Regions from separate parts of the Homo sapiens genome. Here all the other regions are linked to region 2. Evidence: promoter capture Hi-C in human tissues and cell types (Jung and others, 2019). All regions are on one chromosome and are shown on one strand. The core of a region is centred on a gene start or on the middle of the fragment in contact, and the rest is flanking DNA. Distances in the headings are between cores, read along the strand shown.

Evidence for each region. Contacts are between HindIII fragments. The study calls those that stand out against the background at their distance.
Region 1: a contact is called between a fragment that was not itself captured here and the fragment with the promoter of ADAMTS12 in region 2, in 2 of the 25 tissues and cell types used here (lymphoblastoid cells and mesenchymal stem cells).
Region 3: a contact is called between a fragment that was not itself captured here and the fragment with the promoter of ADAMTS12 in region 2, in 4 of the 25 tissues and cell types used here (H1 embryonic stem cells, lymphoblastoid cells, mesenchymal stem cells and 1 more).

Annotation. Positions count from the first base shown.
Region 1 is chr5:33,753,515-33,757,251 of GRCh38, forward strand. The region is part of intron 2 of ADAMTS12 (ADAM metallopeptidase with thrombospondin type 1 motif 12); the gene reads right to left. Among named protein-coding and RNA genes, the nearest start is that of ADAMTS12, 140 kb to the right of the region's middle. The HindIII fragment of the contact is 8,072 bases long and covers 1-3,737 here.
Region 2 is chr5:33,889,953-33,893,769 of GRCh38, forward strand. ADAMTS12 (ADAM metallopeptidase with thrombospondin type 1 motif 12) reads right to left here and starts at 2,038. Exons shown (of 24, transcript NM_030955.4): 1 at 1,778-2,038. The coding sequence starts at 1,904. RefSeq lists enhancers at 1,320-1,821, 1,822-2,321. The HindIII fragment of the contact is 6,841 bases long and covers 1-3,776 here.
Region 3 is chr5:33,639,368-33,643,097 of GRCh38, forward strand. It overlaps ADAMTS12 (ADAM metallopeptidase with thrombospondin type 1 motif 12), which reads right to left. Exons shown (of 24, transcript NM_030955.4): 11 at 2,443-2,588. Among named protein-coding and RNA genes, the nearest start is that of TARS1, 200 kb to the left of the region's middle. The HindIII fragment of the contact is 4,544 bases long and covers 1-3,730 here.

The DNA.
Region 1 (3,737 bases), core at 508-3,007, 140 kb before region 2:
AGTCCAGGAGTCCTCAAAGATGATTGGACCTAGGGGCCCTTAGTGTACCTGCTATCAGCCCAATACTGATGTCCTTGAAGGAGAAAAACTACAAAAGACACCACCAAGATGAAGGAGTTATTGATATTTCCTCAGCCTCAAATTTTGGACCCAAGCGGCACAGAAGAAACAGATGGGGCTCCACTTGAGGACATAATAACCATTTTACGGGCAACATGAATAAGAAAGCCTGAGAACCAAACCAGCATCTTCCTAAAGGCTTACTCCATTTGCATTCCTCCACAAAGTGGTCTTGCCAGGGTGCACGCGGAAAATCACCTATTCAACCTCAATATTTCTCAGAAGCTACCTGGAAACCTGTGAGAGCTGCTGACTCATCCACTAGAGGAGAAGCCAGAGATCTGCTGACATGCAAGTAGGCTGCTGGTCCCAGGATCTCGTGTGTTTGTCACAGAGAAAGGAATAGGTAGGAGAGGGGATGAAGCAGCTGTAGGGAGAGTGAGGTGGGGAATTCCTCATCTGAGCTCTGCACCTCTTCTCTCTCCCAACATATAAACACAGGGCTTTGTACATCTAGTACCCAGGTGGGCCCAGTTTATTGATCTCTTCTCATCTAACTGGAGCCAGGGTCATGCTAGAAAAAAATCACCCGTGGTTTGCTTTCCAAAGAAAGGGCTGGCCCCATACTTTCCCTGAAGCAAATTGCCCAAGAGAACCACCTTCTTCTGTTACAAGGTCTGTACCTTATCCAAAGAAAATAGTTTCCATTCTGGTCTCCTTTGCAACCTGCCCACTTCTCTTACATCTTTAAAGGAGAATGGAAATGGAATTGAGGAAAAAGTATCCAATTTAGTGAGGACTTGCACTGGGCATTCAGAAGAACCTGGGCAGGATGAGCCCTAGGCTAAAGCTCGAAGATAAACATGCCCCTTCACCTCCTGTGCCATCTGCTCTTCTCCCACCCAGTATCCAGGAGTCTCTGCATACTGCTAACTGTCTTTTGGAAATAAACTCACCTACTTGTTTTAACTAAGTTAAAAACATCTGGCTGGGCACGGTGGCTCATGCCTGTAATCCCAGCTCTTTGGGAGGCCAAGGTGGGTGGATCACTCAAGGTCAGGAGTTCGAGACCAGCCTGGCCAACATGGTGAAACAGCATGGTGAAACCCTGTCTCCACTAAAACTACAAAAATTAGCCAGGTGTGGTGGCACGTGCCTGTAATCCCAGCTACTTGGGAGGCTGAGGCAGGAGAATTGCTTAAGCCTGGGAGGCGGAGGTTGCAGTGAGCCGAGATTGCGCCATTGCACTCCAGCCTGGGAGACAAGAGGGAAGAAAACTCCATCTCAAAATAAATAAATAAATAAATAAATAAGTATCTGTGAATGCTTCCCAAGTCTACTAAAAACTGTTTTAAATAAACTTTATTTTGAAGCATTATAAACATATGGAGAGATGTGCAAAATCCTAGTTGTAAATCCTCATAAATGTTTTATAAAAAGAACACCTAGATGCAGAAATAGAACATTACCAGCAGCTGAGAGACTCCCTGTTCCCTCTCCAGATCAATAACATCCCCCAAGGGTAACAATGATCCTGATTTCCAACACTGAAATGTTAGTTTTGAGCCTATTTTGAATTCTTTGGAGGAAAAAATATTTGATATACGCACAAACACAAAAAGGCTACTAGTTCATTTCAAGAGTTAGGGGCTGACCAATAAAAAAGATTTTGTTACAGTGGGCGAATTTCCCCTGGCTTATTAAATCAGACTCTTCATATTGCTTTAGGAGAAATATGGCAAGCCCAGATGGTAGGGATAAGACCAAAGGCTGAGATGCATTGGTGTGAGCCAGCTGGTATTTGACCTCCACTGCTCTTTGATGAGGAAGGATGGGGAAGGATTGTTGCACTCTTCAGAACAGTCCCAGAGTGAGAAGAGTTGCCTGTAATCTCTCCTCCCTCCCCTCAACTTGCATCAACATATTAGTCATCTTGATGTATGTGATATTTTACTTCAATTAGTGACAGTGATCTGGGGTTAGAGGGAAACTGACAGCATCTTATATGGAATTTGTGAATAGAATGTTCTAGAGTCACAGAGACTAGAGACCTTGAAGAGTCACCCACCCCATGCTGTTGTGCCTTCTGGAGTACCACAAGTAAAGCCTGAAGGGTAAGAGCCAATGATAGTGTAAAAGACACATGAAGGCACCCCAGACTTGTGTGATGGAACTGTGCTTCTGAAACCATCACCCTGCCTTGAAAATTCCTTTTACTCATTTGAAAATCGCAGATGTTACCAGATGAATTTGTTTATTCTTGTAGTGACAAAGACAACACAACACATTCCAAAATCAAGAACAGAAAAAAAATTGAGGATAAAGAGGTACCCAAGGTACCCAATAGTATACGAAGCACTGGAAAAGACATCACCTGTTCCCCATCATATAGGCAGGAAAAAGGATAAAATAGCACCCCAAAAATTCCTCTTACAAAGTATCAATCTATATCTATCATAGGGTCAGCCCTGTGCTGAGAGGGCTAAGAAAGGTACTGACCCTGCCCTCAAGGTTTATATGCAATCCAGCCATGAAGACAAGGCTGATGTTCATTAACAAGTAGGGAAGGGAACAGCAAAGCCCAGGGTAATTTTATGCTGAAAAGGACTTAGTGTTCACACAACTCAAGAGGCAAACCCATGGCCTCTGGTGGCACTGGGCCTAGAGCCCAGACCTGAAGTCCTGTGTCACAGAGCCCTTCCCCACAGAACACAGCCCTCACTGGAGCGGCACTTCCATGGGTGCTATGGATTCCAGCACTGTGTTTCGGAGGCCACTGAGAGTGGCTGCTTTTAGGCGGCGAAGCCAAGATTGAACTTCCACAGACTCCAGAACACTTGACACAGTCTTAAAGCCATGAGAGGCTCTCCAAATTATTATTTCTTGTTGCTGGTTTGCAAGAGACAGTTTTTTTCTCATGTAATACACAGCCAAAATAATAAGTCAGCAGAAAGTATAAGTCAAGAGATTATAGAAGCCTCAGAATAAAGAGAGGTGGGAGTAGGACCACCGGGAAGATTTCACCCAGCACACCCTACCCTCTGCTGTGATGCCTAAGTGGCCTCCATGAAGCCAATGAAGAGAGTGACCAGTGATGTCATCAATTCATGAAGATTTTGCATATGAGTCTGGGCAGCCCTAGTAACTCATGTGGTTTCAGGAAATATGGACTGAAGCCAGGAAGACATTGGTGTATCTGCCTGATAGTTACCATGACCCAAGCAGGTATCAGGGATACAGCAACACAACAGAGCTGGTCCCTCTGCCCTAAAACAGTGCTGTCCAACAGAACTTCCTGTGGTGATGAAGACGTTCTGTATCTGCACTGTTCAATTTGGGAGCCACTAACCCCATGCAGCTGTTGAGCACTTGAGATATAGCCAATGCAACAGAGAAGCTGAATTTTTAATTTTATTTAAATTTAATTAGCTTAAATTTAAGCAGCCACTGGCAGTTAGTGGCTCCAATATTGGACAGCTTATTTGTAAAGATTGGCCAAGTAAGGAAAGAGAGAGATTCATAATCATAAGTATATTCACCTATAGTGATGACAGCTGTCATCAGGGCCAATTTAAGCACTTGCCTTAAAAGCAAATGAACTGCAAAAATGTGACCTACTTCACTATAATGGTTTGGTTTTCATAAGCAAATACATCAGGAGCCAGATTGGGAACACC
Region 2 (3,817 bases), core at 788-3,287:
AAAAACAAAAACCTCTAATTATTTTTAAACCTAAATAAATATATATATCACCAATAAGCTTGGAGCACTTTATAGGTTTTTTGAACAGTGGATACTCTCAGCACATAGCTCTAGATAGAGGTGACTAGGGAAAATAATCATATCTCACTTTCCAGAGAGCAAAAACCATGGCCCCGTGGTGTCTGCTTCACACCAAGCTGAATTCCCTTACAAAGAAGATGTGGAGCAGAGCTGAAAACCAACCCAGGAGAATGTGTGTCTTTGAACGAAATCATCTCCAAATGCCCTGGGAAGTGCTTGCAGGCTTTGTTTGTGCTGCCCCAGAAGGGAGACTTTTCACAAAGGAACTGTTTTTCAAAGAACAACAAGCCCTGCTATTTTAAACTTGGGGGTGGGAGATTGTATCTGGACCGTTTACACAAGTGAGTGCTGGCTGACTGACATCTAACCCCAGTGTTTGCTGGCTCCAGCTTTCCAAGTAAAGCAAAGAGAGGGACTTGCTTCTGATACGTCTTGAAGCCACAGCAGATGAGTTGTCCAGCAATATTTGAATTTTACAACATGAGCAGAAAACCCTGCTTAGAAATCCTAAACAAGGACAGGCTGGTGATGTTTATCACCCGAGTGGCCTTGGGAATTAAAGGGATGTCAGAAAGTCATGGAGGACACTTCCCGAGGCTTCAGCACAGTCAGCAAACACAGGACTTAGTGCATGCTAACCCAGTGCTCTGTGTGCGTGTGCATGCGTGTGGGTGCATATGCGTGTGTGTGTGCGTGTGTGTCCCTATTATTGCTACAGGACAGTGCTGCATGATTCTAAGAGTCAGACTACCTGAGCTGAAAACTCTGCTCTACATTAGCTGGCCTCATAAGCTCTCCAAGCTGCAGCATCCTCATCTGTACAGCAGGGACAGCAACACTGGTACCTGCACCCTGGAAGGCTATTGCCAGTGATCGGATGGGCTGACACAGAGTGCCACGCGGGCCATTGCTGCTGCTAGGACTGTTTACCCCCAGAGGTACAATGAACCCCCCACCAAACATGAAGGTGCCTCTGACCCTTCCAAGTCCAATAAACTGCTGACTGTTAGGCTTAAAAGAATAAAACAACAACAACAAATTGTCCACCAGAACGCTTCCAATGCTTCCTACAATAACATGAGTTCAGAAATTCATAAAGAGAAGCAGCCAGCTGTGGTCAGTGAGACAGGACAGGAAAAAGTGAGCCCTTATGGAGGTATAGTTCCCCCAAAAGGACTATTCTTTCAAAAATACAACCCTAAATCTTTCCAGGAAACCAAAACACAGCCAAGCCTGCTCAGTAGGGGGGAAGAATCACATTTCCCCTTTCCTGACCAGAGGTTTAAAACTAACTAGAAACACTGCAATGACGGCCAGTAGCCAGTTAGCACTTAAAAAAAAAATTTTCCATGTTTAGAGTCTGAAAAATAGGGGATCAAAACAGTACAGCATTCAAAGAGGAGACAAAAGAGAAAAAGTTACCAGCTACCTCTTGGGTCTTTCAAAGACTGCAGTGTCATCCCTGTAAAAGAGTGAGGTACTCACCTTTCTATAAGAATGAAGGACTCATCACCTTAAGCACTGAATTCTGAGAAAGCCTAGGCTCCTGAGGTCCCAGCCCAGATTTCCTTACAACGCAGCCAAATGGCTTTTCAGAGTTCAGTTCTGCCGGGTGGGGGAAGGGAAAGGGGAGCAACAAAATTCCCGCAAGTCTTACCACCACTGTTTTAAAAAGAAATAAAGAAGAGTCACTAACCTTGCCTCCTGTCCGGGAAGCGAACCGGGCCTGGCTGAGGCTGTCTCCCATAGCAAAGCGCCCCAAAGTTAAGGAGCTGAGCCACCACGGAAAGGTTTGCAAGCCAGCTCCTCTGGGCACATGGCATGATTCAGATGTTGAGGAGAAGAAAAGTCAAAAAAGTTTTAGCCCTCAGCTCCAGAAATAAAGCGCTCGCCTGTGGCCCAGCAGGAAGATGCAGGGGTGCATGGTCAGGCGCGAGAAGGCAGCGACTGCAAAGCTGCCCGCGATCTCCCTGTGCTTTTTTAAGCAGAAAGGAGCTAGACACCTTTTTCCCCTCCCTCCTCCTAAAAGGGGAGTGATTCAGCTGACAGTGTCCGCTTTCGGCGGGGTGTGGAATGGGCCAGAGCGGGAGGGCGCAGCCCACCCCGGTCCCCACCCCTCCGCCTCCCGCATGCCCCGCGGCCTCGCAGCCCGCCCGCTCGGTGCATCTTCCTCCCGGACTCCCACCCCCGCGCTCCTCCGGCCCCGCCCCGAACGCCAGGCCCAGCTGGCCGAGCCGGCCAAATAGGGGAGACCCGGGAGAGCCGCCCTGGGAGGCACTGGAGGAAGCTGCGAGTGAGAGGCCCCCAGGCCAGCCCCCCGGCGTGCTTAAATACAAGCTCAAAATGAGGAGAACAGAGTTGAGGCAGAGGGGGGCCCCACTCCCTCCATCCTTCCGCGCTCAGCGCTGCCCCCTCCCCTGCTGTTCTCCTCCAAGTTCCTGAACTTTTCCCAACATCGCTCTATCAAGACTCCTCACCCACTCGGACCGCTCTGGGATTCTCTTCCACTGGAAAAACTAATAGGCGATTTTTCTCTTTGCCAAGTCACACAAAGGGAAATGGGCTGCGCTAATCTGCTAATGTGACCTCAGACAAGCCCCCTCAGCTGTGCAATGAGGTGACTGCTGCAAATGCCTGTGGGCCCCTCTGAGTCTGCAGATCTCTGTGCGGCTCTTCTGATTCTAGAACCCCATCTTTCCTAGCCCACCTCCATTCACTCAAAAGGAAACCAGGAATTAAGTCAACCCAGGAAGGTGTTAAGGTATCTCCCCAGTTTCCCTGAACTGGCTACCCTGGAGAGGGCGTCCATTCATTCAGAGGCTCAAGCTTTTACATCGGTCAGAGAATGCCACAATCCAGGACGCTTGCCAGGCATCTTGAGAATTTACTGGGCTAATCCAGCCAAGATTTTTCACCTCTGAGCTGAAACAGGCCTCCTTACTCCATTCAGGAAGAATTCGGCCCCCAATATTGACTTTTCCCTGGCTGCCAGCCAACCACATGTGTTAATCAAGAGTTCTGGGATACCAGCTTACTCAACCTTGTATAGGGACAGAGCCTCCAAGGCAAACTCAGTGGTCTGAAAGCAAGGTGGTCCTCTCAGATGTGGAACACATGGGCACCAAGACTTTGAGAGGTATATGCTAGTTTCCTATTTTTGGTGTTACAAGTTACCATAAATTCAGTGGCTTGAAACAACTCAAATTTCTTATGTGACAGTTCTGATCTGAAACTGGTCTCACTGGGCTAAAATCAAGGAGTTAGCACAGCTGCATTCATTTCTGAAGACTCTAGGGGAGAATCTGTTGTCTTGCCTTTTCCAACTTCTAGAGGCTGCCTGAATTCCTCAGCTCATGGCCCTCTTCCCCCATCAAAGCTAGCAATGGCCCTTTGAGTCTTTCTCACATCACATCACTCTTCTTCCTCCCTTTTCCACTTATAAGGACCCTTGCGATTACATTAGACTCATCCTGGTTAACCAGGACACTCTCCTAATCAGCTGATTAGCAACCTTAATTCCATCTGCAACCTTAAATCCCCTTTACGTGTAACAGAACATGTTTTGTTGTCACAAGCAAGTAAAAGAACTACTCTGAGCCTTTTTTCTGTTACGTAAACATTAGGAAGCAGGATCACAACTGGAGTTAAAAGACATTCAGATAACACAGGCATGATGACCTGCATTTGCAAGGGCATTGAAGAACAACTTTGGGCTAGAATTCTTTTTGCTTCTTTT
Region 3 (3,730 bases), core at 469-2,968, 250 kb before region 2:
AGAAATGAGAGAAAATTTAAGACAGCAATTATGTATCCCAGACTGAAAGTACAATGAGAGTTATGTGAAGGGGAAAGCCATGGAAATGAGGCTAGTTGGGAAGGATTTACGGAAGGGCTTGTCCTGGAGAATGGTCTTAAAGGACGACTGGAAAGTCCTTCTCAGTGCAAAGGCAGAAGGCATGTCGAGCGAGCAGTCCAGATGAAATCGTATTCCAGGGACACAGAAAGCTAGAACAGCTCCCCAAAGGACACAGGTGGTAGTGGCAAAGCCAAGACTTGAATCGTCGTCTTCCTTGATCCAAAGCCTGAGCTCTTATCCACTATGTTACACTGCCTGACCACAAAATCCTGAGAGACAGAGAACTCAAATCCTGGCAGTCTAGTCAAGTACTGGTTGCAGCTGTAATTCTTGTTGATTCTGCTGTACTTTGTTCTCCTTGAATGCCCATGAGATTTTCTATACCTCCCCTCCCTCAATGTGGCCTGAGTAAGCTTCTGTTCCTCACTCATGAAAGAGTTTTGACCAAGGCAGTTCACATAGTAGGCTCTTAATTTGTTGATTCCCTTTAGGAGGTACCAAGAATTGTCCTTGTTATTTAAGGTGAGGCTGGTTTTCTATTTGTGCTGATGCAGGGACACTCTATGACCTGGTATGTCTCCAATTCATTTCCATCCAATCAATATCACTGACAGCCTCTTATGAGCCGAGCTCTGCTGGGTTCTCACTAGACAGTTGACCTACAGCAAGGATGCAGTCCCAAGATCAGCTGGCTCATGCACTGGCCTGAATCTGTGACTTGAACCACAGATCCAAATCTATGATGCGGTGCCATTGGCAGTGTTAGCAATGAATTTAAGCAAACCGGCAATGAAGAACAGGCATGTCCACTCACCCAAAGAGACTCTATGACAAACTGTGGCCTTGGAGATGAGAATTAGAACTACCTTTCTCCTGAAGCCAGGTTAGAGATTCATCCTTCACCTCCTCAACTAGGAGTTCCCTTCTCTGATAGCCACAAGTCACTGACCAACCTGCCAAGAACTTTCACACTGGTGGTGTCTGAATATACAGCATTGACAATAAGTCCCAGAGCAAATTGCCTTTCTTTTCTGATCTCTCAAATGAAAATGGAAATCACATTTCTGGATCAAATGGAAACAAACGATTAAATGACAATTTTCTCTAAAAACAAAATACTCTATGAGAAACTCTTGGTTTTGAATTTTGAAAGTCACAGAAACCCAGTACTTAAATAAAACAACTTTCATCAAAGGGTGAAATTTTAAAATAATTTTGTGAAGAATTTCCAAATGCATGCTTATAAATGTGGTAAATGATAAAGATTCATAATAACTACTATTTATTAACACTTTATTATGTAGTAGATACTGTGTTAAATTCCTTACACATACTAACTTATTAACCCTTAGAAAAAATATATAATATATATAGTGTATATATGTATATATGTAATGTATACATGCATATATATTCATATATACATATACTTATATTTAAATACTATACATCTAGGTAATACAGTTATTAACAAAAAGGATAAATAACCTTTGGAATTGAGATATTGAGAGATAAAATCACTTTTATTGCTCGCCTTTTAAAAAATGTGACTCCTACTTTTCAAAGTAGATGAATGTAAATTTAGATAAAAGAAACAATATAATTTCCACTTAAAGGAGATATCACATATACACTTTTAAGAAATTACTTGGGAGACAGTATATCAGAAAATAATGAAATTAAGAATGTAATGTGTATTTGGAAAACAAGCAAGTTTAAATTTACCTCATATATAATATTATCATACAAATAGAATATATGAAAAATTAAGCAATTTGCTTAAACAATTGAAAGTCACTTGTAAAATAACATTTGCAGAATCCTTAACAGGCCACTGCGGAACTTTAGGGTTTATAAAAATCCTTATCGAAAAATATTAAAAATAATTGTCCTCAAAAATGTACCTGTTTTACTAGTTGCTTAAGGAAAGAATTATTCTCATAAAATTGTGTATTCATTATCATTGAAAGCAAGCTACAATCTTATCAGCAAAATTGCGTTTCACTAATCTCTACTGATAAAATTGAGTTATTTAAAAAGATTTAATTGTATAATCTCCTAGAGGCTTTCACATAGATTGCACATTTAAAAGAAATTTGCTTTATTTCCCCAAATGATAAAATCAGCTTACTTATCCAAGTTTTAGTGAGAATCCAGTGCCAAGCCGAAATGAAACAACACAAAACAGAACCACTTTTTTTCCCCACTCTCTGTGAATCTTCTTGTTCTGTTTTGTCCTGGGAACCCATTTAATTTACCTGGAGGAGGCTTGGGGTCACTGAGGTCATGCCATTCAAGACTGCCCCCCATCCCGCCCCCAGCACATGTGGAGAGAAGGGAAATATATTTATCTGGACTCACTCGGGGTTGTTGCAGAGCCTCTCTGCGCTCTGGACTCCAGCCCCACAGGTCCTGGAACAGTGGGACCAGGGTGACCAGCGGCCCCAGCCTCCAGGAATGCTCTCTGGTTTCTTCCCCACTGTGATGCACTTGCCTGCCATACACCACTGGAAAGGGAAGAGGCAGGAGATGGCCGTATCAGGAAGGTTACCAGAGCAAGCTGAGCCAAGAGCCCTAAAAGTCTAAACCCAATTCTCTGCAAGCAAGCCGGCTTTCTACAGTCACATATCAGATGTAAAACAAACAGGGGCTCATATAAGTTTCTGCCAAGAGTCGTGGGTTTTAGAATCAGAGAGTTTCAAGAATGGAAGGAAACTTTACGTTGCCTAATCACACAGGTGCTACACAGTGTGGTTGGCAGATCGAGCACGAGAATGTAAATCAACATACTACTTTTTTCATTGAGAAAGTCTTGTTAGGAAAAGCATGTCAGCTTAGTATGCTTAGCAACATAGTTGCTTAGTAACATAGTTGATTTGCTTTCTGGTGCATGATCCTTATCTTGTTGCAAACCACAATAGTTCACAGACTGGCACAGCGAATAGCACTTCTTTATAGCTCTCTGGGAACTTAATGACTGCAACAGAGAACTCATCCGCTGCAAAAAGTCAATTTCACTGCCAAAACACACTAGCTGTTAGGAAGTTCTTCATTACATCAAGAAAAAAATTACACTTTCTTTTAACTCTACCCATTGTTTGCAGCTCTGGCCTTTCAAGCAACTAAGAAAAAATCCACTCTCTCCCCTCTTCAAGGCAATCCTTCCACGACTATCGGTTTAGGAGAGTAAATATACAAAAATGAAAACAAAGGGAAATGCTATGTGGTTGTCGTGAATAACCACATTTCCTGGAGGATTTGGACATGTTTTATTGTCTGATATCCTTTTTTTCCTCTTGTGTTTTTTCTGGCCACTGTGTATTTTGCCCGGGTTCTGTAATCTCAGTGAGGGGTCCTGCCACACTCAAGCTGCATAAAGATGCCCACAAAACATGTAAGCTCTAGGCCCACAAGGAACCCAGCCTAGAGGATATCAAACCTCTCTGTGTTCTGTGGTGTCTGATTTGCCTGCTTAGTAAAGTAGCAGAACTTCAAGAAATGCAGTCATGTCAGAAGATGAGAAAGAAGATGATAAGTGGCCTAAATCCTGCATTTTTGGGAAAAGAAGCCGCTGGCTTATCCTTTTCAATCTTCCATATGAGAGAAAAAAAGTCAAAAGGAAGGCTGATAATAAGCTTAGGAAATGTTG